2 separate regions of the Homo sapiens genome follow, and region 1 is linked to region 2. Evidence: promoter capture Hi-C in human tissues and cell types (Jung and others, 2019). All regions are on one chromosome and are shown on one strand. The core of a region is centred on a gene start or on the middle of the fragment in contact, and the rest is flanking DNA. Distances in the headings are between cores, read along the strand shown. Region 1 overlaps DNAJC18 (DnaJ heat shock protein family (Hsp40) member C18). Region 2 holds the start of SLC23A1 (solute carrier family 23 member 1).

The links. Contacts are between HindIII fragments. The study calls those that stand out against the background at their distance.
Region 1: a contact is called between a fragment that was not itself captured here and the fragment with the promoter of SLC23A1 in region 2, in 1 of the 25 tissues and cell types used here (adrenal gland).

What each region holds. Positions count from the first base shown.
Region 1 is chr5:139,436,186-139,439,470 of GRCh38, reverse strand. It overlaps DNAJC18 (DnaJ heat shock protein family (Hsp40) member C18), which reads left to right. Exons shown (of 8, transcript NM_152686.4): 1 at 1-65; 2 at 1,913-2,099. The coding sequence starts at 26. Among named protein-coding and RNA genes, the nearest start is that of DNAJC18, 1.7 kb to the left of the region's middle. RefSeq lists enhancers at 1-75, 1,376-1,876 and a silencer at 279-388. The HindIII fragment of the contact is 5,325 bases long and covers 1-3,285 here.
Region 2 is chr5:139,381,563-139,384,677 of GRCh38, reverse strand. It overlaps SLC23A1 (solute carrier family 23 member 1), which reads left to right and starts at 1,381. Exons shown (of 15, transcript NM_005847.5): 1 at 1,381-1,460; 2 at 2,073-2,186; 3 at 2,629-2,786. The coding sequence starts at 1,425. RefSeq lists enhancers at 1-130, 511-680, 701-770, 2,371-2,420, 2,896-3,115 and a silencer at 2,021-2,080. The HindIII fragment of the contact is 7,898 bases long and covers 1-2,494 here.

The DNA.
Region 1 (3,285 bases), core at 16-2,515, 55 kb before region 2:
GCGGACCTGCTGATTGGGAACCGATATGGCGGCGACTCTGGGCAGCGGGGAGCGCTGGACGGAAGGTACTAGGTCCCCGCCTGAAGGAGGGATAGGGCGGCCTTCGGGAGAGATCAGGGATGAGGATCCTGAAGACGCACAAGGGCTGAGATCCTGGGTCTGAGGTGATGGATAGAGGCCTGTGAAAAGATGCTGAGCCTGAGTAGGGTTGCGGATGGGGTAGGGAAGCTGGGGACCGACCGCGAGCCCAGAGTCACCGGTGACGACTTGTTGCCTCCGGCCCCCAGCCCCGCCCCCGCCCGTGCCCCGCCCAGGGCCCGCAGCTGTCAGGCCCCGCCCATGCCAAGGTGACTGGAGGGCCCGTGGGGTGCTGCGGTCTCTCCGCAGCTTGCTAACCTGGCCCTTATCTTTCGCCTAACTGGGCCACCTGACCTTCAGTCCCTGTTTGATCATGTCGCTCCAGCCGGCATCAGGACCAGCCTTTTCCACCCTACAGTCAGGCAAAAAATATTGATCCAATACCTATTGTGTGCCCCGCCTAATGCTGATTCTGCAGTGGGGATTTGACTGACATGGGTCCCTTAGCTCACAAAACTCGCAGCCCACTGAGAGAGTTTGACGACTGAACAGCCAATTACAAAACGGGCGAATAATACAAAACGCCTGGGCTACACAGCAAGGTCAGGGATTTGGAGAGCACACTTACAAGGTACCTAACGCAGACTGGCTGTCAAGGGAGGTTTCTTGCAGAAAGTGTTACAAATGGTGACAAGAAGGATGCGTCGGAGTTAGCCAGGCCGACTTAGAGGAAGACTGTCCAGGAGCAGTGGGTGGAGGTAGCTGAGGGATGTTAAGCGGAAGAAAGATGTTGTTAAAGCCTTTCTCAGGTCCTCCAGAGAAGACATGAGTGCTCTGCCCCTTTTGACTGTATTGCTTATGACCCTCTTTACATTCTGCAGGTGTTGTTATTGAATCTTCTCCCTTTAAACCAGGGGTATCCAATCTTTTGGCTTCCCTGGACCACATTGGAAGAAGAATTGTCTTGGGCCACACATAAAATACACTAACTGACGACTAAATAACTAACTGATGACAGCTAATGAACTTTAAAAAAATTGCAAAAAAAAATCTCATAATGTTCTTTTTTTTTTTTTTGAGACGGAGTCTCGCTCTATCACCCAGGCTGGAGTGCAGTAGCGCGATCTCGGCTCACTGCAACCTCCGCCTCCCGGGTTCACGCCATTCTCCTGCCTCAGCCTCCCGAGTAGCTGGGACTACAGGCGCCTGCCACCACGCCCGGCTAATTTGTTGTATTTTTAGTAGAGACGGAGTTTCACGGTGTTAGCCAGGATGGTCTCGATCTCCTGACCTCGTGATCCGCCCGCCTTGGCCTCCCAAAGTGCTGGGATTACAGGCGTGAGCCACCGCGCCCGGCCCTCATAATGTTCTAAGAAAGTTTACGAATTTGTATTGAGCTCAAAGCCGTGCTGGGCCACATGCCACCTGTGGGCCGCGGGTTGGACAAGCTTGCATTAAACTAACCTCTTTGTGGTCAGGAGTAGATCTTACCCATCCGCCCTCTTGATCTTCTAGCCAAGTTCCTTGGTATATATTAGTTCTATAATTGTTAGTGTAAAAGAATTGAACTCCTCTCTACTTTAAATTTTAGGGGTGGGAGGCACTGCAACAAAAAATACTATTTTACGAGCAGTGTCTCTTCTGACCACGGACCACAGAGAAACATGTTTATTCAGCTTTGTATGAGTGCTTAAAAGTCAGCATGACGCCTCTAGCCCTGGCCATCATGCTTACCTTCTCATGCTTACGAGCAGCCTCCCAGAGAGGAAAGGCAGGTTGCAAAGTTGATTTTCAGGGTCAGATGGAGACCTAATGGAGGGGCTGTTGTTTGCAGCTTACATTGACGCAGTTAGAAGAAACAAATACCCAGAAGACACACCTCCTGAGAGTCATGACCCCTGTGGCTGCTGTAACTGCATGAAGGCACAAAAGGAAAAGAAGTCTGAGAATGAGTGGACTCAGACCCGGCAGGGTGAGGGGAACTCCACGTATAGTGAGGAACAGCTGCTTGGGGTACAAAGGTGAGCATGTGGTGAGATTAAATGAGTGATTTTATGGAAAGTGCTTAGAAGAGTGCCTGGATGTGCTATGTAAGTATTGACTGATGATAATGATGATGATGATGATAATTGAGGCATACTAGCTTCTTGACCTCAGAGGGAAGACTGAATAGAAGTGGAATATTAGGGTATAACATGAACTGACTACCCTGCTTCTACTTTAAGAGAGGCAGCAGAAACCGACTAGACACAACACACATCTACAGGACATTCTTTCAACAACAACAGAACGATTTTCTTCTTAAGGATACATAGAATATTCTCCAGGATAGACCATATCTTAGGTCATAAAACAAGCCTCAATAAATTTAAAAAGATTGAAATCATACAGTGTATGTTCTCTGAAATCAAAAACAAAGGGAAATTTGAGAAATTCACAAATATGTGGAAATTAAACTACAAGCTCCTAATAAGCAAGCAAGTCACAGAATAAATCACTAGGAAAGCTAGAAAATGCTTTGAGATGAGTGAAAATGAAAACACGACGTACTAAAATGTATAGGATGCAGCTAAAACAGTGCTTAGAAGGAAATTTATAGCTCTAAATGCTTATTTTTTTAAAAAAGACTCCAAATCAGTAACCTAATCTACCTTAAGGAACTAGACAGCCTGGACAATACAGTGAAACCCCCTCTCTTCCAAAAAATATATATATACAAAAATTAGCTTGGTATGATGGCACCAACCTGTAGTCCCAGCTACTTGAGAGGCTGAGGCAGGAGGATTGCTTGAACCCAGTAGGTTGAAGCTACAGTGAGTCATAATCGCACAGCAGAGCAAGACCCTGTCTCTCAAAAAAAAAAAAAAAAAAAAAAAAGAAAGAGGGATATCCCTACCAATCCAAATACTATGAACAATTGTGTGCCAACAAATTAGATAACCTAGATAAAATCAGCAAATGCCTAGAAAGACACAAATTACTGAAACTGACCCAAGAAAAATGGAGGCCAGGCATGGTGGGTCACACCTGTAATCCCAGAGCTTTGGGGGTGCTGAGGCAGGAGGATTGCTTGAGACCAGGAGTTTGAGACCAGCCTGGGCAACACAGCAATACATTATCTCTAAAAAAAGAAAAAAAAAATACTTGGGCATGGTGGCACATGCCTGTGGTCCCAGCTACTTTGGAGACTGAAGCAGGAGAATCACT
Region 2 (3,115 bases), core at 132-2,631:
TTGGGTTGAATTGAGTGTCCATGGAGCCGTATCTGCAGGGGGTCGGGCTTGGTCTCCACAGCACCCTGGGGAGTTCTGGGAGGAGAAGTTGGAGAGAAAAGTGCTGGGGAGTTGCAGAGGCTTCAAACTGGTCCAGCAACTTTGGAAATTGGGAGCAGTAGCCAAGAGGGAGAGGAGAGGACAGGCGGACAGAGGAACAGTGTGGACACCGGCAGGCGGGCGGACTCAGTGCTGTGGCATGAAGCTGCTGCCCAGCTGGAGAGCGGTGCTGCCCCTTGGCCCTTCAGGCAGGGCCTGGCCATGGGCACAGCGACCCAGAAGTAGGTGGGCTCTAGAGTGCTGGGGCTGGGGCAGCCCAGAGGGGAACAGAATGGGGACCTCAGGCCCAGCCCTCACCAGCTGAGGAGCCTGAGTTCTTAGGGCCCCTCCCCATGTCCCCCTCTGCCATCTCAGGCCCTAGGGCCAGGCTGGGCTGGGCCTGCCAGGAGGGGAGACAGGCTGGGCATAGGACTGCCTTCCTGGGCTAGGTGATGGGCAGTCACACAGGGCTTGGTGCATAGAAAGGCCCCACGCTCCATCTAATGCTCCTGCTATCTTTAAATTCTTTATACTTTTGGAATAAAGGCCTCACATTCTTACTTTGCACTGGGTCCCAGAAATTATGTGGCTGGGAGGGGAAAGGGATCTGTGCCCTGACACAGAGTGCAGACCCGGCTGGGCCAGCCTAGGCAGCTCTGCCTGCAGAGGCCCATCTGCTGCCTGCCTCAGGGACCCTGAGGGGTGCAGGGTGGTGAGGGCAAGGCAGCTCAGACCAACCTGAATTTTAGGATTGGTTTCTGCAAACTTGCTATCTGCATGGCTTGGGTCAAATCACATCTACTGAATCTGTTTCCTTCGCTGTTAAAGGGGTTAATACCGCCCAGCACAGGGGTTACTTGGGACAGTGCAGATCCATGTTTCTTGGCACAAGGCCAAGGCCATTCCTCAATAACGAGAATGACTATGATGATGATGATAATGATGAACTAGTTATTAATCAGTGGGGAAGGGCCTCATACAGGGGGTTACATAATAAGTGCCTGTTTCCACTCCCTCTTTCTCCGCTCACCTGGGGCTTGGTAAACTTCTGGTCCTCACCCCCTCGACTCTGGCCCTCTCTTGGGAAACAAGAACAGGTCCAGCGCCCAGGCGCAGATGTGGGCAGGGAAGGGCACATGTGGCAGAGGCTTGGGTGGCTTTTACTGTCCTAGTGAGAGTTAATACATTACCTCTGCCCGGGCCCCCCTTTCGCAATCCAGAGCTGGGCATCTGGTTACAGATTTACTTCAAACAATGCCTGATATGTGGAGTAAAGTCCTCCTCCTTGGCCTTTGTCAAGTCATCCCCTCTTCTCCTCAGGAACTGCTCAAACCTGTGCCCCAAAGATGAGGGCCCAGGAGGACCTCGAGGGCCGGACACAGGTGCTGGGGGCTGGGGGTGGGGGCTAGGGGGGGCAGGGGGGGTGGGGGGCTGGAGGGCCTGTGCAGGCCTTCTTCCTGGAGGCCAGAGATAAACGTTCTGATGAACTTGATAAGAGTGACTGTCCCAAATTGAATGTGGCAACTGGGGGATGGGTGGAGGTGGGGGTGAAGGAGCCTGCAGCTTTGGGACTGGCTGACTCCAGGTTGGGGTTCAGGAGAGGCCTAATCTCCCGGCCAGTGACACCCCAAGGATCTCCAGGGGGCAGAGGTGGGACCGGATTGGACTTGTCCACAGTCTTGAGCCCTCTTGGCCCCCTCTCCTGTGGTCTCCAAGACTTCTGACTTAAGGGTCCACTTCCCTGGCTAAAATGGCAGGTCCTGAGGGCTCTAGAAGCTGGCACAGTAGACTCATCCCTGCGGGAAGCAATGCAAAGTGGGAGAAAACTGTGGCCAGGCCAAGTGGCACCCGGGTGGATGGACTGTTGGGGAGGGCGGGAACCCCGCTCTCAGTTGCTGACAAGCCACTTGGGCTGCCTGATTGATTCTGGGGCAGAATGGATTTTGCCTGTCCCCATCACTTCACCCTAAGCTACTTATCTCTGCTGCCTCCAGCATGAAACCACCAGGGACCCCTCGACCCCGCTACCCACAGAGCCTAAGTTTGACATGTTGTACAAGATCGAGGACGTGCCACCTTGGTACCTGTGCATCCTGCTGGGCTTCCAGGTGGGTCCCCCAGGGCCTCCCCGCCCTCACTCTGCACACTCCCCGGGGACTCCAGCCCCTCCCTGGCCAGCAGGGAGTATCTTGGGTAACAGGAAGAAAAACCTGAGGTCAGCACAGTGGCTGTCAGCAAGCAGGAGTCGGGAAGAGGCTGAATCCTGAAAGAAGATGAACTCCCTGGGGGAGTGTGACGCTTGCCAGGTGGGGTGTTGGTGACAGGGAGCAGAGCCGACTCCACGGAAGCCGCAGGAATATCTTGAGTGGAAATTAGTGACCCCCAGAGTGGTCAGCAGTAGCTCTCTGGGAATCCCTTGTGGGGACTGCCAGTCCTGGGCAGGCAGCCGGTTCCAGGCCCGCTGAGGCAGGCATGAGGACACTAGGTTGTCCCCTCTCCCTGGAGCTCTGGGGTCCTGCCTCATGCACTCTGCTGTCTCCCTCTGCCCAGCACTACCTGACATGCTTCAGTGGTACCATCGCCGTGCCCTTCCTGCTGGCTGAGGCGCTGTGTGTGGGCCACGACCAGCACATGGTTAGTCAGCTCATCGGCACCATCTTCACGTGCGTGGGCATCACCACTCTCATCCAGACCACCGTGGGCATCCGGTGAGCCGCCCAGCCCCCCAACCCGTCCCCCGCCACCCCTCCACTGTGATCCACACAGCAGGAGCAGGTGGGCTCCCAGAGGACACTGGTGAGACAAAAAAGCCGCTTTCTGCCTCCACCTGCTTCTCCTATCCCAGGCCAGCCTTAGAGCTGGGCAGCGTGGCCCCAACCCTGGGAATCTTGATCTAGGCACACTTCAAAGACCAGGCATCTGCAAGTTTAAGGGATTGTACCCTCGCTGGCTCTCCCCTCTTTTTTTTTTTTTTTTTTTTTTTTTGGAGACGGAGTTTTGCTCTTGTTGCCTAGGCTGGATTGCGGTGGCGTGATCT